7 separate regions of the Homo sapiens genome follow, and regions 2, 3, 4, 5, 6 and 7 are each linked to region 1. Evidence: promoter capture Hi-C in 16 types of primary human blood cells and fetal thymus (Javierre and others, 2016). All regions are on one chromosome and are shown on one strand. The core of a region is centred on a gene start or on the middle of the fragment in contact, and the rest is flanking DNA. Distances in the headings are between cores, read along the strand shown. Region 1 holds the start of BAZ2B (bromodomain adjacent to zinc finger domain 2B). Region 2 overlaps TANC1 (tetratricopeptide repeat, ankyrin repeat and coiled-coil containing 1). Region 3 overlaps TANC1 (tetratricopeptide repeat, ankyrin repeat and coiled-coil containing 1). Region 4 has its middle 24 kb from the start of LY75-CD302. Region 5 overlaps LY75-CD302 (LY75-CD302 readthrough). Region 6 overlaps TANC1 (tetratricopeptide repeat, ankyrin repeat and coiled-coil containing 1). Region 7 overlaps WDSUB1 (WD repeat, sterile alpha motif and U-box domain containing 1).

Region 1 (2,738 bases), core at 125-2,624:
TATTAGACAGGCAGTATTTCTGCCCTTCCCCCAGTGCTCCTGCATTGCAATCATTGTACTTGCACTTATTATGTTACAAATGACCGAGGTAAGGCTGACATTCTCAGTGCATGCAAAAAGACCGAGTCTGCCAAGCTTTTTTTTTTTCCTAATGAAGCAGCTTTGTGAAATCTCCCCATGTGTTAATACTAATGAAGATCCTCCAGCACAATTAAAATCACAGCCAGTGGCTGAAGAGGAAACATAAAACAATAGCATCTTTTAAGATACATTTATCCACATATGTATAAAATATACATAGATGATCAAATTATTCTCCGATAGCTTAATTTTTACTTACTCTTCATCCTGAAAATTAAATTATGCAATTTTTAATTATATGAACTTTGAGACTTTCTTGTGTTCTGGAGGGAAAAAACGGTACCTCAACGAACTTCTAAAAAAAAAAATACGTATCTTCTTGGCTAATAAAGTGTTATCAAGATTAAGGCTTTTAAAAAAATTGTTTTTAGGAATCTATAGGATGGGGTGCGGGAGGGAATGGGGCCTATTGTATCTTTAGTTTAACTTGATTGGTTGCAGGATTTGGGAATTGGGGTTGGGGGAGTGGAAGGGTAAAAACAAAGTTGGAAGAGATTCTGGGGGTAGACCATAGCATATGACTGCATTTGTAGTTTAAAGGAGCAAAGGGCTACCAGTCTTACTCATAACTTGATTTTTAAAAAGTGTTCAGTGCCTACAATTTGCTATGCTTTTTTTCTAATCTCTCAGAAACTTGAAAAAAAGCTATCGAGATTACCTTTTACAGTGTGTGCATATAACTTTAAAACGACTATTTTAACGTCTTTTATTTAAATTTTATTTTAACTTAGTGCATAAACATTACAGCCAGTTTAACTTGTCCGTGGAAAGGCAGTAGAATTTTACCCCGGGACCGTCTTGCATACTGCTTTTTTTGAGTTTTAACATCCGCAAAATCTTGGCATATTAATTTAGTTGGGTTGTAGAATTCTGAGTTTAGGAACAAAAAAAATTTAGGTGGAGATGGTTGACCTATGCTCCCTACTCTGTAGCTTTTGTTTTTTTAAAAACTAAGTTTTAAATCCCGTTTTCTGTCCTGTCTTCTTTAAAAGCAAAACAAAACATTTTAAGTTTCTTAACTTTTTCCTGGGACAAGGAACGGTGCAAACTCAAAGCTACAGTATTCTTGGAAAGAAGAAGCAACCCCCTCCCTTGGCTCCTTTAGGAGCTGATAGGTCATTTATTATTGGAACTGAAATGGTATAAACAATTCTCTCTCTTTTTTTCCCTTGTTAACAGCAACTTTCATTGTTAGAGAGAGGAGAGAGAGAGAAGCCTTGTTGGTTGACGTCACTTGGTTCATGAAGCCTTCGCCTAGAAGTGAAGCTGCTGAACAAACCTTGAGAAGAATCATCTCCTGCTTCAATCTGCTGCTGGATAGGAACTAATCAGAGAGAGAGAGGCGGAAGACGGAGAAGGAGGGAGTCGAAGGCTTTCCCGATCACAAATCTCACCTCCACTACAACTCTCTTTATACTTTTCTTGCAGAAATAATAATAGAAATAAGGAGGTGGTGGGGTTTCCAAAAATCTTAACCTTCAACCATCTGGGGAAAAGGCAAAAATCCCATCTACCGCAACTCTCAGTTCGAGAGTAAAGGTGAGTTTAAAATCCTCGGGCGTGAGGGGTGCGGGTGAGGATGTAAATTCCCAGTGTTACAAAGCCGGTGGAAACAGCAGCGGAGAAACTGCGCTCGGGCAAGCGGGGGACTCCGGAGTTGCTGCGTGGAGGCGCTCGCCCCGCCGCCCTCTCGCCCTCCGCCGCTGTTTATCCTCGCCGGTCGGTGCGGCTCTTTGTTGTGGTGGCCGGAAGGCTGGGGTGGTTCTCGGGGTCCCGAGTGGAGTTTGGGGGAGGAGGACACGGAGATGTGCCGTCCTGGGTGGGAGGTGGGGGGTGCGGCCTCAGGAGAACGTAAACTTTATTCCTAGAAGCCGGTGCGGGACTTCGCTGGAGTAGGGCCGTGGGTTGTGCTCCCGGCCGGGCAGGCGCTGCCGCCGCGAGTCCGCCGCCTTTGTGCCGGCCGCCCTGGCTTCGCGTCTCCTTCCTCTTCCCCTTCGGCTTCCAGCGCTCAGGTCGCCGCCAACAGTTTTGCTTCTTAAAAAACAACCTCTGTCAGCGTTGCGATGGCCGTTCCTACCCCGGAATATCCGCTGCTCCCCCACTCCCTGCCGGGGTAGTTTCTGGATCACCCCCCACCCCCGTCCGCCTCCTGCTGCCCTTTTTTGCCTCCGCCCCCTCTTCCCTGTCGGACTGACGAGCTGCGTCTGCCACCCCCACTCCCCGGCTTGGGCCTCTAGCTCTCCCGTGTGTAGCTGGAGGCTCTGAGTTTACTGAAGATGAGCGGGGGTGGGGGTGGGGCAGGTGGGATTGGGAAAAGATCTGGATACCTGGGAAGGTCTATGTCAGCACGCAGAAGGTTTGAGGAGCATTGCTTCTCATACAGTAAGGTCTGTGCCTTGGTCTCATGTTTTAGCAGTTCTTCCCCGGGAACGACCGCCAGCTCCCAACTCCTCTGCTTCCCTCTTTTAATCTTCTTGTCGCTACCCCTCCCCCCAGCCCCCGTTCTCTTTCGCGGCTCCCTCCCCTTTAAGTAGTTTCACGAACCCCAGAATTGGGATTTGAGAAGGGGAAGGAAGTGTTTGAAGAGTCAGAGCTGG
Region 2 (2,858 bases), core at 85-2,584, 490 kb after region 1:
TAGGCACCTGTATTCCCAGCTACTCAGGAGGCTGAGGCAGGAGAATTGCTTGAACCCGGGAGTCGGAGGTTGCAGTGAGCCGAGATCACGACACTGCACTCCAGCCTGGGCAACAGAGTAAGACTCTGTCAAAAAAGGAAGGAAGGAAGGAAGGGAGGGAGGGAGGAAGGAAGGAATGGGGACCTCAGTCCTACAGTCACATGGAACTGAATTCTGCCCTCCTGAATGAGCCTGGAAGTGGTTCATCCCCTGAGCCTTAACAGAACACCACCCTGCTACCGTCTTGATTTTGGCCTAAGGAAACCTAGAGAAGAGAGCCAGATGTGCCTGGACTTCTGTCCTAAAGAATTGTGAGATAATAGATTTAAGATAAGCTTGTAGTAATTTCTCAGGGCAGCAATAAAACACTGACATAATGTCTATGAAACACTGTCTCATGTGCTACAGGTAAACACCAAATGCAAGCTGCTGTCAGAGCAGACTCCTGAAAAGGACAAAGCTGGAGCCTCACCAGGCGTATAAAGCAGGTTGTGTGGCTGTGCTGTGACAGCCTACTAATAAATCTGTATGGGCAGAACTCCACCTAAGCCTTATTTTCATTCATGCCTGGTTGTGAGCTCACAAGGAGGAAATCTCTAGCTCTTACTTCCTCTGACTTTTGGTAGTAATTACAATGTGCCATAAAGAATCTAATACCAGCTGGGCATGGTGGCTCACGCCTGAAATCCCAGCACTTTGTGAGGCTGAGGTGGGAGGATCACTTGAGCCCAGGAGTTCAGGACCAGCCTGGGAAACATGGTGAAACTCCATCTCTACAAAAAAATACAAAAATTAGCTGGGCATGGTGGTGCGTGCCTGTACTTGGTGAGGAGGGCGGGGGGTGGGGAGAGCTGAGGCGGGAGGATCACACAAGTCGAGGCTGCAGTGAGTCATGCTCATGCTACTGTACTCCAGTCTGGGTGATAAAATGAGGCCCTGTCTCTGGAAAAAAAAAAAATGCAGCTGATTTCCTTAGCTTTGTAGGAATGGTTAAGAAAATAGCTACAAACAATTGAACAACCACAAACTTTGATTTAAAGATATCCCTGGAGGAAAGATCGATCTTCCTAGAATGGCTAATTTCAGAGTTTGTCTAAGGAACTCAGGAAGTAGGCCTTAAGCCACAGGGCTCTTCTGTTGTTTGCACAAGGAGGAAGTGAGCCCTCCACTGCCTGAAGTAACTGACTCCAAAAGGAAGGCAGGATCCTTGAGAATTTTCTTTCCCTGTGGGTTCAGACCAGCCCCTGGACCAACAGCAACAGCATCACCTGCGAACTTATTAGACATGCAAATTCTCAGCCCCTCCCCAGACCACAGAGTGATTCCGATGCCCCACTCAGGCTTGTTTTTTGTTTTTGAGACAAAATCTCGTTCCGTCGCCCAGGATGGAGTGCAGTGGTGCGATCTCAGCTCACTGCAACCTCTGCCTCCCAGGTTCAAGTGATTCTTATGCCTCAGCCTCCTACAGACAGGCACCACCACACCCGGCTAATTTTTGTATTTTTAGTAGAGACAGGGTTTCACTATGTTGGCCAGGCTGGTCTCGAACACCAGACCTCAAATGATCCGCCCGCCTCAGCTTCCCAAAGTGCTGGGATTATAGGTGTGAGCCACCTCACCTGGCCTCCCACTCAAGTTTGAAACCCACTGGCACGGCCTGTCTGGAGTAGCTATGCAAGACCTTGCCCACAGCCCAAGAAAGCTCAAAATTCAAGTATGAAGACAAAACAGTATGATGTTAAATGACTTGGGAAAAACAGCAGCGGGAGGGAGGAAGGCAGCGATTGAGCTGTACCTGAGGCTGGGGGCACGAGGGGAGACTGGCGTCACTGAATGGGACCACAGAGGTGGGAGGCAGGGGGTTTTACTCTTTCCATTTCCTAAACGAAGTAAAAGCAGTTGGAGGAAGAGAACTTTGTCTCTGTTTAGCTTCTTTACAGTGTTTAGCACAGAGCTATGTACTCAGGTGGGGCACAAATATATATTTCAATAAGAAAAAGTTTATTTCTGCTTTTTAAGTAAATTATACTCATTTGCTATAAATTAGTAACTTCTAAGAAATCCTGTAATTTGGGAATGTCTTCTCCAATATTTACTCAGTACAGTGGCTACCACAGAATTCCATTTCATTTCTGTCAGGGCAGGAGATTCAGAAGTAAGGGGAGGAATGTGAGAAGGGAGATATGGGGAGGTGTTGGAGGGGTTGAGGTGGGGTGAGGGGAGCGTGGGTCCCAGCCCAGTCCCTTGAAAGCTTCCACTGATTAGAAGGTGCTCCACGACCCCTCCCTAACCAGCCAGGAGAGGGTGAAGGCAGAGCAGTCCTATGTCTCACTCAATAGCACTCTCTCTTTCCATCCTCCACAGTGACCAGGTCAAGACTATCCCAGCCTTCTCCAACAAATCTAATACACGCACATACACACTCCACCCTTCGCCCTATACAGAAAAAAATCACCATCGGAAGGGAGCACCTGAAGGAAATTCTTCAGCCCCATCCTCACACCTACCTGCTCTGGCATGCATCTGCATACATCCACACACAGCGAATCCTCTACCTGCACTCATGGGCCAAGATCAGGGTGCAGAGATCAAGGGCAAGAACAGGGAACAGAGATGCAGAACGCAATTGTCTCTAGAGAAATACCTGTAAGCACTGTTGCTCTTAATAGGATTTATGAGTTTAATCAGATTAGGTCCAAAGATTAGCTATGGATCATAGTTTCAACCTGACTAGGTTGCACTGAGACCATTAAAAGGGCCAGCTTGGACAATGAGCTACCACTGCACACCTTTTAGGATGGCTAAAACTTAAAAAACAA
Region 3 (2,851 bases), core at 290-2,789, 450 kb after region 1:
TTGCAGTGAGCCAGGATCGTGCCACTACACTCCAGCCTGGGTGACAGAGCAAAACTCTGTCTCAAAAAAAAAAAAAAAAAATTAAAGATCTATTCAAACATTCATACGAGTTAGATTACAAAAACAACTACCGCAAAATAATTTTGCTAATTCTCAAGAAATCTTAGAAGCAAGTACATAGTACACGTTTTTGCCTTTTAAAAACCCCTCCTGTTATTACATTGAGGAAAATCTAAAATTAACCTAATTTGGTTTATGGGTTAAGCCCAACATGAAGTACTGTTGATCTTAGTCAGATTATTATCTTTCAGGACAAGAAAATATACAGTGACTTGAGGGCAAATGAGAGCCTAGAGGGAGACATAGTGCCTGGGTAAAGCCTTCTTAGCACTGGGGACATCTTCAGTGGGACCAAGGTGCAGGGGACAGAAGTCGAGTTGGGCCATCTGTCTTCTGAAAACCCTCTGGCTGCCCAACAGGCTCTGACCCAGCATCCAGCTGCCGACCAGTGCCATCCGTCCTACCTGCACCCTTCCATTTCCCCCTACTAAGATCTCAGTCCTTCTCTTCCTCACTATCCATATCATCCTCTCTCATTCCTTCATTCAACAGCCACCTGGGTGGCTCCAGGCCTGACTGTGTTGGCATATCCCCTCTCGCTGCATCCTCCAAAGGGCAATCCAACACGTGCCCTGCCTACTCATCCTCCCAGCGAGCAAGAAACACCTGAAACCTTGACTTCACGACAGCATGCACCTATGCCTCTGTATCCTCCTGGTGCATATCCACAGTGTATACACATTTAAGTGAATATTCTATGCACTTTGCCAGCTACCACACAAATCTTTCCCATTAGAAAGACTCAGCTAATTACTTGTTGGGGATTTTAAATGGATCGAATGTACGGTAATCCAAGGACAGCGTCTAGCTTCTCTCTAGGCCCTTCATAAGTAGGGTGTATAAAATCTCCCGGAGGGCTAACAGGACTACACTGTCTTCCCCAAACCTTCTTACCTCCCTACAGTAACACAGCTTGGAACATTTTCTAGGCTCCTGCCTGAGCACTGAGACCCTTCTCCTCACATGCCTCATGGTGAATGCACCCACCAAGGCACAGGTAGAAGGGGCAGGCAGCCATATTCATAACCCGTAATTCATTTCAGAGCCAGAACAGTCATGAACATCTGACATAATGCTGCAGCCCTAGAGAATAAAAAGATGCTTTAGAGCCTCAAAAGTGTTGCCTATTTCCCTTCTTCCCCTGACTCCTTAGAACAGTTTATAAATTTATAACAACTGAAAGGATTAAAAATATGTGACCATAAAAGACATTCCAAATAAAGGATTGCAAAAATGCCCTAGATTGTATCTAAACAGGTACAGGAGATGTTAAGATTCCACAGGCCTGTTTTCAGATTCCCAGCCACTAGAGCTTCGGCACCAAAATCTGCAACAGAGCAGCCTCAGCACTTCCACAGCTCTTGGCTGATTCTCAATTTCAAATACGATTAAGCCGAGCTGAAAGCTGCAGCAGGGCCATAAGCCACCACCTGCCAGCTATCTCAGCTTTCTGAGGCATTTTCGAAGCCACCAATAGAGGTGCCAGTGAATAGGGCAGGAAGATTTCAGTGGCTTAGCTATGTGCCCAGGTGCTCCCCACCCTCTGAGCAGGTAACTTGGGCCACTCTGCCCTCTCAGGCATGCCTACAGTAGATTCTCAGTTGTTACCTATGCAAAAGTCAGACTCACATTCAGTATTTACCCATAAACGCTTTCAAAATCCTAGACACTACTCAGGGCCCCAAAAACCCAAAGGTAAAGCAATAATTTCATGCTACAATAAACCCACTGCTAGAATCTCTACAGCGAAATTAATTATACACTTGTTGTGCACACACACACACACACACCATATCTAACATCTGGATAAGAAGCACATTTCAAGATGTGGAGGAAAGTCCGTTTTTTGGTGAGGGTGGGCTTGGTGGGGCAAGGCAGAGGGAGACATCTCTAAGCTGAACAAAGAAGAACATTTGCTAAAGTTGTGGTCTAACCTATGGAAAGTCCATGCCAATAAGTCCAGGGCAATGACCAGTTTTAGGAAAACTGGATAGCAATCATGCTTGTTTCCTGGAAAATTAAACACAGTGTTCTATAATCCACTCAGAAAGTATTTTGAAAGGTAAAAAATAGAACCCATTACCCAACTTCTTTCTGATTTAAAACATACCTTTAAAGGCTTCTAGGTCTGTTTTTAATAAAGGAAAGAGGTGTCCATGTCATGCATTTTGATGTGATATATAGTTGTCCAAACCAATCCCACTCTAATAAATATCTTTACAAAGAAAATCTGTATAGTGAAATAATCTTTAAACCTAGCCAACTTATTTTTATAATCTTTGTCAAAAAATAAAAATAAAAAAACCTGTCACTGTACTACATGGTTAACAGACAATTTCATTCTCTGTAGCAAGCTCAATAAAGGACCTTAGGAAGAACTTCTGCACCCAATCCCCTAGGGGCCAGCCCCATGAGGAGGCTGTGAACAGAGGTCTGGCATCACCCTTCCTTTACCTGCCAATCCTCATATGCCAAAACACCTTTCCCACCAAAAGGCAATTTGTTTACCTGGATCATAACATGCAAATACTTCTAAGAGATTTCTGTATACGGTCCTTCACATATTATTCTGATTCTTCTAACACTGAGTGTTCTCTGCTGCCCTGTTTGTAGCAGCCTGCCTTCTAATCACTAAATAGTGCTGCATAGAGTCTATACAACCTGAATCTTACTCTTCAATGGTACTTGAAAAATCTTGCCATTTCCTCTTAACTGAGATTCAACTTCAGGG
Region 4 (2,700 bases), core at 128-2,627, 310 kb before region 1:
TTTTTGAGACGGAGTCTCGCTCTGTCTCCCAGGCTGGAGTGTAGTGGCACAATCCCTGCTCACTGCAAGCTCTGCCTCCCAGGTTCACGCCATTCTCCTGCCTCAGCCTGCCAAGTAGCTGGGACTACAGGCGCGTGCCACCATGCCTGGCTAATTTTTTGTATTTTTAGTAGAGACGGGGTTTCACCGTGTTAGCCAGGATGGCCTCGATCTCCTGACCTCGTGATCCACCCGCCTTGGCCTCCCAAAGTGCTGGGATTACCGGCGTGAGCCACCGCGCCTGGCCACCAATGTGTAGTCTTTTATCCCTCATCTCTCTCCCACCCTTCCCCCTGAGTCCCCAAAGTCCATCATATCATTCTTATGCCTTTGGGTCCTCATAGCTTAGCTCCCACTTATGAGTGAGAACATACGACGTTTGGTTTTCCATTCCTGAGTGACTTCACTTAGAATAATTGTCTCCAATTCCATCCAGGTCACTGCGAATGCCATTATTTCATTCCTTTTTATGGCTGATTAGTATTCATATATATATATATACACACACACACACACACACAAATATATAATACATATACATGCACATATATATACATATACATATAGATATATACATATACATATACAATTTCTTTATCCACTCATTGATTGATGGGCATTTGGGCTGGTCCCACATTTTTGCAATTGCGAATTGTGCTGCTATGAACATGCGTGTACAAGTTATCTTTTTGGTATAATGTCATCTTTTCCTCTGGGTAGACAGCCAGTAGTGGGATTGCTGGATCGAATGGTAGTTCTACCTTTAGTTCTTAAAGGAATCTCCACACTGTTTTCCATAGTGGTTGTACTAGTTTACATTCCCACCAGCAGTGTAAAAGTGTTCCCTTTTCACCACATCCACACCAACATCTATTTTTTTATATTTTTTTGGTTATGGCCATTCTTGCAGGAGTAAAGTGGTATCACATTATGGTTTCAATTTGCATTTCCCCTGATCATCAGTGATGTCGAGCATTTTTTCATATGTTTGTTGGCCATTTGTGTATCTTCTTTTGAGAATTGTGTATTCATGTCCTTAGTCCACTTTTTGGTGGGATTGTTTTTTCCTTGCTAATTTGTTTGAGTTCCATGTCGATTCTGGATGTTAGTCCTTTGTCAGATGTATATATTGTGAAGATTTTCTCCCACTCTGTAGGTTGTCTGTGTACTCTGCTGATTGTTTCTTTTGCTGTGCAGAAGCTCTTTAGTTTAATTAAGTCTTGTCTATTTATCTTTGTTTTTGTTGCATTTGCTTTTGGGTTCTTGGTCATGAAGTCTTTGCCTAAGCCAATGTCTAGAAGGGTTTTTCCAATGTTATCTTCTAGAATGTTTATGGTTTCAAGTCTTAGATGTAAGTCCTTGATTCATCTTGAGTTGATTTTTGTATAAGGTGAGAGATGAGGATCCAGTTTCATTCTTCTACATGTGGCTTGCCAATTATCCCTGAACCATTTGTTGAGTGGAGTGTCCTTTCCCCACTTTATGTTTTTGTTTGCTTTGTTGAAGATCAGTTGGCTGTAAGTATTTGGCTTTATTTCTGAGATCTCTATTCTGTTCCATTGGTCTATGTGACTATTTTTATACCAGTACCATGCTGTTTTGGTGACTATGGCCTTATAGTTTGAAGTCAGATAATGTGATGCTTCCAGATTTGTTCTTTTTGCTTAGTCTTGCTTTGGCTATGTGGGTTCTTTTTTGGTTCCATATGAATTTTAGGATTTTTTTTCTAGTTCTGTGAAGAATTATGGTAGTATTTTGATGGGAAATGCATTGAATTTGTAGATTGCTTTTGGCAGTATGGTCATTTTCACAATATTGATTCCACCTATCCATGAACATGGTATGTGTTCCCATTCGTTTGTGTCATGTATGCTTTCTTTCAGCAGTGTTTTATAGCTTTCCTTGTAGAGGTCTTTCACCTCCTTGGTTAAGTATATTCCTAAACATTTTATTTCTCCTTGTAAATTAATAAACTGACATTGTGATGTCCTCCTCAGTCTCATGTATGATTTTGTTTGGGCAGTGGCAGCTCTGGAACATTGCTGTAGGAGGTGCATAGGTGTGGGCAGTCTCACCAGAAAGGGGGTCTAGACCTGAGGAACTTGTCATGGTGCAGTGATTCCACAACAGGGACACCAGGCTTTCTTAGATGGCAGAACAGTCATATATTGGCATTACGACATCTACCTCAGCTTTTGCAGGTGTTTAGTTGAGTAAGCCAAAGCATGGCATCCCCTGGACCAGAAAAGAGTATGTTTCTGTGGCTTGAAACCAGGAACCAGGCCTGAGACATAATGGTCATCTTTAAGTTCCAGTCCATCTCCACACAGCCTTCCTTTTCTTTGAAGACAACTAGGCCACTTCTACCAGCTCTCATCTCTCTTATTACATGGTAGTATTTGAGAGATCACAAATCTGTTTTAAGCACAGTTTTACAGATGACAAAAGCAAGACTTAGAAATATTCTTTGATTTCACCAGTAATACATGGCTAATTTGTGGCAATACATGAGAACTAATCTCATGATTCCCAGTTCTGATCTGGGTGTCTTGCAGTGTGACTGACCCCAGAACACTGCAAGAAAGGAGGAGGTTAAGAGGAATGTGGGTCATCGTAGACCAGGGATAATGAAAGAGTCTATGCTATCAGACCATAAAATCA
Region 5 (2,700 bases), core at 75-2,574, 280 kb before region 1:
GATCCACACTGTCAATCCCCCCAGGCTTTCCCCAGGCCCTGTCGCCTTCCTGAGGGTGCCACAAGCCAGTGTATGGCTGGATAGTTGCAGACGACTGTGATGAAACTGAGGACAATGAAACTGCCACAGTGGAGCTGGCCACAGGTTCTACCCTCAGAACCCAGACCTCTGTTTCTTCTTGTTTCTGTACCCCACTGTTCTGCTGCTCCCTCAGAAATTTCCCCATTTCCTCTGAGATACCTCAATGAATTTAGGTCTCCAAAAAATATCTAGGGGGAAGTGGTCTTTAAGAAAATTGTCCTTAAGTTTTCCTTTTTAGTGGCCCCACTAACTTGCCCTAAGGCAGAGGAGCACAGAGGCCTCACTATGTACTTGGATCTGAAGAAAGGAACATATATATAGTGCACATGCTGTGTTAAGCATCGACTTTTCATGTAATAATTTACCCTGCCGTAGTAGCTAACATGTAAGCAAGGCAGAATTATGGTCCCAACTAGACTTTTCATTGAGATGAAAACTAAAGAGCTTCTTTTGTCTTATTAAATGAGAAGGGAAAAATCTTTCATGAAATAGCAACAACAAATATACATGCTACTCTACACGCTTTACATGGATTAGCTCCTTTCATGCTCACAACCATCATATGAAAACTGGAGCACAGAGGTTAAATGATTTGCCCTGATCCTATGGCTAACAAGTAGCAGGAGCAAAATATGGACCCAGGCGGACTGGCTCCAGAGCCCGTGTTCTGACCCTACACACTGCACTGCCTCTCTGCTCACCACTGTCCCACCTTTTGTAGTCCCCTGCAGCTTAAAAAGAGTGGGAACAGACTGAGGATGGGAACAGTCCAGTAGTGCTCAGACTCTCCTCAGCAGGCAGGGAGCAAGGCGCTTCAACCACATAATCTACAATCTGTCTGTCCATTTGACTCAGCTAATGACCCCTTCACCATCGTCCATGGAAATACGGGCAAGTGCATCAAGCCAGTGTATGGCTGGATAGTAGCAGACGACTGTGATGAAACTGAGGACAAGTTATGGAAGTGGGTGTCCCAGCATCGGCTCTTTCATTTGCACTCCCAAAAGTGCCTTGGCCTCGATATTACCAAATCGGTAAATGAGCTGAGAATGTTCAGCTGTGACTCCAGTGCCATGCTGTGGTGGAAATGTGAGCACCACTCTCTGTACGGAGCTGCCCGGTACCGGCTGGCTCTGAAGGATGGACATGGCACAGCAATCTCAAATGCATCTGATGTCTGGAAGAAAGGAGGCTCAGAGGAAAGCCTTTGTGACCAGCCTTATCATGGTGAGTATTAGAGAGGGACTTTGACCGATTTGCTGTTGTGCTTGTCACATGTGGCATTAAACATGCACAATTTAGTAAAAATAGAGTCGTACATTAGTAAGGGCAGTGAGTAAGCTCTTCACTTCCAGGCACTGTGCAGTTACTTTGAGCGACATTCTTACAAGTCCATGGTATTTGCCTCTACTTTGCAGGTAAGGCTAAGAGAGATAAAGTGCCTTGTCTGAGGTCACACAGCCATGTTGTGATAAACCTGGGATTTCATCAGATAGATATGTACTTCTTATGATGGTCTTCTAAACCCTAGAGGAAAGGAAACCCTAGAGGAAAGGAATCATTAGATTTGTACAGGCTAAAAGTCAAATGATCTAATAATGTTGATCTTATTCTAAGTTTTAAAAGAAGAAGAAAGGTCAGGCGTAGTGGTGCATGGTTGCGGTCCCAGCTTCTCGAGAGACTGAGGCAGCAGGATCACTTGAGCACACAGGAGTTCAAGGCTGTAGTGTGTAATGATCACGCCTGTGAATAGCCACTGCACTTCAGCCTGGGCAACATAGTGAGACACCCATCCTTAAAAAAGAAAAGAAGGAGAAGGAGGAAAAATATATTTTTTCTTGCCTACGGATTTTGAATAAAATGGGAAAATTTTGAGTGGATTTTCTTATTTATTTTCATTTTTGCATGGCAACCAAATTTTGATGTTTATATTTATGATTCAGCATTTTAAGAGTGGAGTTTTTCAGTTGCTTCCGAAAATAAGTATATTAATATTGCCTTGCGGGGAGCGGACCATGGACTTAGCCCTGAGTCTAGGGACTGGATTGCAACTAATTTCTAAGTTAAAGAATGAGTAGATTTATTTTTTTAACCATTAAATGTAATTAGCTATCTCCCAAGCAAATATTTTTCATTATGTTGCTCTAAATTACACCAAATGTCGATATGCATATAATTATGTCCTCTAAGTCCTATTATTTCCCCTTGCCTTTCTTTACAAATTTCCCTAGCTTTACAGTGGCTTTCTTCTTCTCTTAAAGATCATTTAAGCTAAATTTGGCCTCAAAGTCACTATAGCAGCTTGCTCCCATACTTTCCATTATCCATCTGCACAAGTTTTTCTTTCTAGCTTTCTATTTCCTAGTGAGGATGCAAGAATTATTCTGAGAATGTCAAGTTCTGTTGTGGAGAAATATTAGAGAATTAGAGATAGGGTTTCCTTTTCATCATTCCCTGGCCTTTGAATAGTTGACAGTCTGTTTCTGCGAGCCAGTTTCCTCCTAAAAGTAAAGCAGTTGCTTTTTGGATATGACTTAATGGCAAATTTAAATTCTGTGCCACAAAAGCCCTTCTCCAACTTGCCAACTAAGAGGAAACACAGAGCCAAACAAAATGCCT
Region 6 (2,700 bases), core at 75-2,574, 470 kb after region 1:
TGAGACAGAGTCTCGCTCTGTGGCCCAGGCTGGAGTGCAGTGGTGCAATCTTGGCTCACAGCAACCACCAACTCCTGGGTTCAAGCAATTCTCCTGCCTCAGCCTCCCGAGTAGCTGGGATTACAGGTGCCCACCACCATGCCCAGTTAGTTTTGTATTTTTAGTAGAGACAAGGTTTCACCATGTTGGCCAGGCTGGTCTCAAACTCCTGACCTCAGGCAATCCGCCCGCCTTGGCCTCCCAAATTGCTAGGATTACAGGTGTCAGCCATCGTGCCTGGCCTTTTTTTTTTTTTCTATTGAAGTGCCAGGCTAATTTCATTCCTGTTGAAGAAAAAATGTGCCAAATACCTACTTCAGAATAACCATGGGTTGTCAGTCATTCTTTCAAATAAAAACAATATTCCATTTTAAAAGTAGCGAGTTCAGCTTGCAATTCAATCATACAAGTGCTCTGCCTCAAGAAAACCATCAGACTTCCGAGCATGCAGAAGGGCTTTACTCAGACTTCCCACTTCATCACACAGAATATTAAAAAGATGGGTCTCCAAGGGTCAAGATTTAATAACATTACTTTTAGTGCTTCATCAAGGACATTCTTCAGTGAATTATTTGTGAAGCCAGCACTTGGCAGTGAAGAACACCAGGACTACCAGTGTAGCCAGTGCCTTGACATATACTAAGGTATCAGAAGTTTTACCAACAATTGCTTTTGCAGCATCAGTGCAAATGTCAACAAAGGGAAATGTAAATACCTTCTCCGTATTATTACAAAAGGGTTTTGTACTATTATAAAGAGTTTTGACATCACAAACCCCTGAAAGTGTCTTGGGGACTAGAAGTCCACAGCCTACACTGTCAGAACCTCTGAATTAAGTCTACAACTGTGTTAAATAAAAACCACAGCTGCACACATCTCTCATCCTAGTAACTGATCTCCCATCTTTATCTGTTTAATTTGGGGGTAAAAGAGGGCTCTCTATTCTCACCAATTCCATTTCCTTATCACATACCTATAACTTCAAGTCACAGACCTTCACAAGTCTCCTGAAACAGCCCTGTTAAGCACATTAATTTTTCTTTTTCCTTTTTTGTAGTACACCTTCTCTTTTGATTTTCCTGTAGATCTACGGCCTTGCAAGCACTCTGTCCTGCAAGGTATAAAGTGGCAATTGTTGTAAGAGACACACAGAGGGAAAAATCCATGATTACCAGAATACTGTGGTCTTGTGTGGTCTTTTCCTGTCCCTCTTGCTGGTGCTCCTTGCACCTTAGTCCCAGCTCATAAATGAAATACCAGTTTCTCAGCCCTCTTTTGTCAACGACCTGTTTCCCTACTGTAACTTGCCTAGTCTCACAGCATTACTTCCAAGCAAATGGCTGACCAGTTTATATCCTGAGCTCTTTCTTGATACCCAGTTTGATTTTCCAACTGGTGGCTGGACACTTGCGAAGATGTTCCACCAGCACTTTGAAGTCTCCATGCCTGAAACTGAACTCAAACCAAAACACAGTCCCTGCTCCTCCAGTGTCCCTTAATGTGGTCTCAAAGGCGTGAAGTTGTTGTCTCTGTCTTTTTCAGTTCCCAGGTCCTTGCAATTCCTCAAGAATCTTCCATTCACCACCTCTTCTTCACTGAACCTGAACTAATTTGAGACTTTATCCTCTCACTTAATTACTAAAACAATTTTTTAATCATTCTTAACCGTAGTCTCTTTCCAGTCCCACTCCATCCTACTCTGTTGCCACGTACTATAGTCTGAATGTCTGTGTCTCAGAATGGGATTAGTGACCTTATAAATGAGGGAGCTTGTTTGTCCCTTCCACTACATGAGGTTACAGCAAAAAGATGGCTGTCTATGAACCAGCAAGTAGGCCTTTGCCAGACCCCAAATCTGCAGACTACCTTGATCTTGGACTTTCCATCCTGCACAAATCTAAGAAATAAATTACTGTTGTTTATCAACCACTCAGTTTATGGTATTTTTGTTATAGCAGCCTGAACTAAGACAACAGGTAAATCTTAAGGCATAGCTACAATTAAGTCTTTCCATGCTCAGAATCTCCATCTGCTGGCCAAGCATAGTGGTTCGCACTTGTAATCCTGGCACTTTGGGAGGCCAAGGCGGGTGGGTCACCTGAGGTCAGGAGTTTGAGACCAGCTTGGCTAACATGGCAAAACTCTGTCTCTACTAAAAATACAAAAATTAGCCGGGTGTGGCGGTGGGTGCCTGTAATCCCAGCTACTCGGGAGGCTGAGGCAAAAGAATCGCTTGAACCCAGGAGGCAGAGGTTGCAGTGAGCCGAGACTGTGCCACTGCACTCCAGTCTGGGCAACAAGAATGAAGCTCCATCTCAAAAAAAAAAAAAAAAAAAAATAGAGAATCTCCATCTGCTGAACTCCTAGTTCATCACACAGCTTGGATTAGTCATTACTTCCTCCTTTATTACAGTCACGCCATATACAGGTCTCTAATCCCCTGCCAGACTCTAAGGCTCCATAAAGACAGGACCCATGCTTGATAACCCATCTCAAATAGCATTTAGCATAGTGTTTTTTCACAGCATAGAAACTGAATACTTATTCAAGGAAATGCAGAATGAATGGATACTCTACTTCCAAGAGTCTCTCTTCTGTGCACACATACCAGGTATGCCCCTTTTCTATACTTCCATCAAATAAAACCTCATTCAACCATTG
Region 7 (2,897 bases), core at 328-2,827, 340 kb after region 1:
GAAGACAAAGTATATAATTTCAATTTGTTTAATTTCGTATTTGTTATTATCTGTAAATACTTATGACATATTGACTCATCTTGTGACATTTTGCTGAAATAAGGAAAAATAATCCTGTTTGCACCTGAGAGTAAATGATCATTTCTCTCCAGTTTTTAAATGATAAAGTGTAGGTTAGGTTATTATAATTTAAATATTTTTCCTGAAGAAAAGTATGTTTCTAAATATTATATTTAGATACTGAACATAAGCACATTTTAACCTGTGTAATTTTCCATTGTCTTAGCTGAATTTTCACTACTTAGAGAACTTCAGAATTAACTTCAAAGGATCTATTTAGTTAAGAAACAAATAGCGTTGCTAATTAGGTCTAATACAGAAATATTTTGCTCTCAGCCATTTATTGAATAAAATGTTTTGTCTTAAAAAGACAGTGATTATCAGGAATTGCCTGTATCCCTCAAGATCTCTCTTAGAAAGGATATATTTTGGGTAAATCTATGCTACAGAAAGAAACAAAAATGCTATTGAAATATGGAAGTCCCATGGAGTTAAAAAAGCTTTCAGTGAAATGGAATTTAATTTGTTGTTCGTTAGTAAAGTGTTTGTACTTTCAAAGAGGCAGAGTCCATAGAAAAAATTTACATGCCCAGGTGTACACGTTTGTTAAATTTTATATACTGAAAATTTGTTAAGCCAGAGTACAATCTTAAGATGGATATTAGATTTCTGTTTTGGTGACAGGGTCTTGCTCCGTCATCCAGGCTAGAGTGCAGTGGTGTGATCATAGCTCACTGCAGCCTCAAACTCCTGGGCTCAAGGAGATCCCCTGCCTCGGCCTCCTAAGTAGCTACAACTACAGATGTGTGCCACCACACCCGGCTAATTTAAAAAAATTTTTTGTAGAGACAGGGTCTTACCATCTTTCCTAGCCTGGTCTCAAACTCCTGGTGTCAGCCTCTCAAAGTGCTGGGATTACAGACTTCAGCCACCATGCCCAGCCTCAATTTCTTAATTGTGCTTTACTGCATATGAGTGCCAAAACTTACTTGATGAAACTACTTGTGATATTAGGTGCAACTTGTATAAAATTGCATTGATGATGTCAATATTTACATTATCCAAAATTGTTTAGGAACTTTAGTAGATATATAATGATACACTAAAATTAAGTAAGTGTAATGTAGTAGCTCTTCTGGGACACCATATAACTGATTACTTTCCCTAAATAATATAATATTTTCAACCAAATGGAGTGAATTGATGTTATTTTTGATTTCTATAATTCCAGCCTTTGGCTTGATTAAATCAGATGGAAAAAAATTCCCATTATTATTCCATGTGAACTATAGATCAGGCTTTTAAGAAATTGATATGACTTTAGGCCAGTGCAGTGGCTCACGCCTGTAATCCCAGCACTTTGGGAGGCTGAGGCAGGCGGATTGCAAGGTCAGGAGTTCAAGACCAGCCTGGCCAATATGGGGAAACCCCGTCTCTACTAAAAACACAGAAATTAGCCGGGTGTGGTGGCACATGCCTGTAATCTCAGCTACTTGGGAGGCTGAGGCAGGAGAATTGCTTGAACCTGGGAGGTGGAGGTTGCGGTGAGCTGCCAAGATCGCACCACTGCACTCCAGCCTGGGCATCAGAGCGAGACTCCATCTCAAAAAAAAAAAAAGGAAGAAATTGCTATGACCTTAAAAAAAGGTTAGGAATGATTAAACATTTAACACTCTCAAAGTAACTGACTTTTCTTCCTGATTTTTCCTATCAGTGCTAGCCTCATAGACTCTCAAATTGAGTTAGAGGAGGATGCTCTATTGAGTGGCTCAATATTGGTCCTTGCAGCCTTGAGTTCTATTCTTTGAGGAAGGAAAATGAAAGGTATTTTTTTGTAGCAACTTGAGGACTAATAATCCCACATAGTACCTTGTTTAAAAGAAATTCTTTAATCAGCATTTTGTTAAATGATATAAGTTAACTAATAACTTGTGAACATGGTTTAAATGAGTAGAATTAATAGATCTTAGTATAAGAAATGGGAATTTTGGGGGGGTTTCAGTGTTTTACAAATTCTCTGTATTTATTTTTAATAAATTTTAGATGGAGAACAAGGTCTTCAGTTTTTTCGACTGGCATCATGTGGTCAGGATTGCCAAGTCAAAATTTGGATTGTTTCTTTTACCCATATCTTAGGTATGTATGCCAAATAGTGCTTCTCTAAAATTATTTGTGGTCTGGATAAAATTTCTATTTAATCTTTTTACTTAAGGTACCTTGAGTATCTAAAAGTAAGTATTAAAATATGGTTTAAGAAACTTTTAGTCAAAATAATACACATGATTTAAAAATCAGATGCTCATTGATGATCATGACCTCACCCATTCTACTGCCATGCACATTTCTGCTCACCAGAGGTGACCACTTTGCACTTGATTTCAACTCCTTTGTGGTTTTCACAGTTTCTGTAAACACTGTTTATACCACTACATTTTTTTATTTATTCACTGTAGGTACTGCTTTTTGTTAGTGTGTGGGTCTTTTCCCATCCATTGTACTATTCCATCAGGTGACCCTTTCAGTCAGGAAGCTTATTTTGTACAGTTTTGGAATAAACTATTCCGTTATGTTATTTCTTTAATTCATCTCTCTTTTTACAACTTCCATTAATTGAATGTTGGGCCTCCTGAATTGATTCTCTTTTTTTATCCCCCACATTTCTCTCTCTTTTCTTGTACTTTAGGGGAAAATTTCTCTGCTTTTTGTCTTAACCTTTTTTTGAATGTTTTATCGCATTAATCATATTTTCAGATTCTAAAAGCTCACCATCTTCTTTGTTTTCTTTTCATAGTGTCCTTTATAAATGTAAGATCTCAAAACTCTCAGGATGTCATTTA

Evidence for each region. Contacts are between HindIII fragments. The CHiCAGO score rates a contact against its expected background, and 5 or more counts as called.
Region 2: a contact is called between a fragment that was not itself captured here and the fragment with the promoter of BAZ2B in region 1, in 1 of 17 cell types (erythroblasts). The highest score is 6.1, in erythroblasts.
Region 3: a fragment that was not itself captured here is called in contact with the fragment with the promoter of BAZ2B in region 1 in 1 of 17 cell types (megakaryocytes); the score reaches 5.1 in megakaryocytes.
Region 4: a fragment that was not itself captured here is called in contact with the fragment with the promoter of BAZ2B in region 1 in 1 of 17 cell types (neutrophils); the score reaches 6.5 in neutrophils.
Region 5: a contact is called between a fragment that was not itself captured here and the fragment with the promoter of BAZ2B in region 1, in 2 of 17 cell types (neutrophils and monocytes). The highest score is 10.3, in neutrophils.
Region 6: a contact is called between a fragment that was not itself captured here and the fragment with the promoter of BAZ2B in region 1, in 1 of 17 cell types (erythroblasts). The highest score is 6.8, in erythroblasts.
Region 7: a contact is called between a fragment that was not itself captured here and the fragment with the promoter of BAZ2B in region 1, in 1 of 17 cell types (megakaryocytes). The highest score is 7.2, in megakaryocytes.

Annotation. Positions count from the first base shown.
Region 1 is chr2:159,615,184-159,617,921 of GRCh38, reverse strand. It overlaps BAZ2B (bromodomain adjacent to zinc finger domain 2B), which reads left to right and starts at 1,374. Exons shown (of 37, transcript NM_013450.4): 1 at 1,374-1,680. BAZ2B-AS1 (BAZ2B antisense RNA 1) reads right to left here and starts at 2,628. Exons shown (of 2, transcript NR_110588.1): 1 at 2,469-2,628; 2 at 1-2,172. RefSeq lists enhancers at 1,285-1,354, 1,605-1,684, 1,312-1,838. The HindIII fragment of the contact is 3,593 bases long and covers 138-2,738 here.
Region 2 is chr2:159,122,882-159,125,739 of GRCh38, reverse strand. The region is part of intron 4 of TANC1 (tetratricopeptide repeat, ankyrin repeat and coiled-coil containing 1); the gene reads right to left. Among named protein-coding and RNA genes, the nearest start is that of MIR6888, 63 kb to the left of the region's middle. RefSeq lists enhancers at 1,128-1,639, 1,640-2,153. The HindIII fragment of the contact is 1,916 bases long and covers 377-2,292 here.
Region 3 is chr2:159,165,530-159,168,380 of GRCh38, reverse strand. The region is part of intron 8 of TANC1 (tetratricopeptide repeat, ankyrin repeat and coiled-coil containing 1); the gene reads right to left. Among named protein-coding and RNA genes, the nearest start is that of MIR6888, 20 kb to the left of the region's middle. The HindIII fragment of the contact is 3,806 bases long and covers 1-2,851 here.
Region 4 is chr2:159,927,713-159,930,412 of GRCh38, reverse strand. It overlaps a transcript of PLA2R1 not described here. Among named protein-coding and RNA genes, the nearest start is that of LY75-CD302, 24 kb to the right of the region's middle. The HindIII fragment of the contact is 4,816 bases long and covers 1-2,700 here.
Region 5 is chr2:159,897,296-159,899,995 of GRCh38, reverse strand. LY75-CD302 (LY75-CD302 readthrough) reads left to right here. Exons shown (of 38, transcript NM_001198760.1): 2 at 937-1,308. LY75 (lymphocyte antigen 75) reads left to right here. Exons shown (of 35, transcript NM_002349.4): 2 at 937-1,308. Among named protein-coding and RNA genes, the nearest start is that of LY75, 6.1 kb to the left of the region's middle. The HindIII fragment of the contact is 3,516 bases long and covers 1-2,700 here.
Region 6 is chr2:159,140,364-159,143,063 of GRCh38, reverse strand. All of the region lies in intron 5 of TANC1 (tetratricopeptide repeat, ankyrin repeat and coiled-coil containing 1), which reads right to left. Among named protein-coding and RNA genes, the nearest start is that of MIR6888, 45 kb to the left of the region's middle. The HindIII fragment of the contact is 4,627 bases long and covers 1-2,700 here.
Region 7 is chr2:159,274,845-159,277,741 of GRCh38, reverse strand. WDSUB1 (WD repeat, sterile alpha motif and U-box domain containing 1) reads left to right here. Exons shown (of 11, transcript NM_001128212.3): 4 at 2,104-2,196. Among named protein-coding and RNA genes, the nearest start is that of WDSUB1, 10 kb to the left of the region's middle. The HindIII fragment of the contact is 2,030 bases long and covers 563-2,592 here.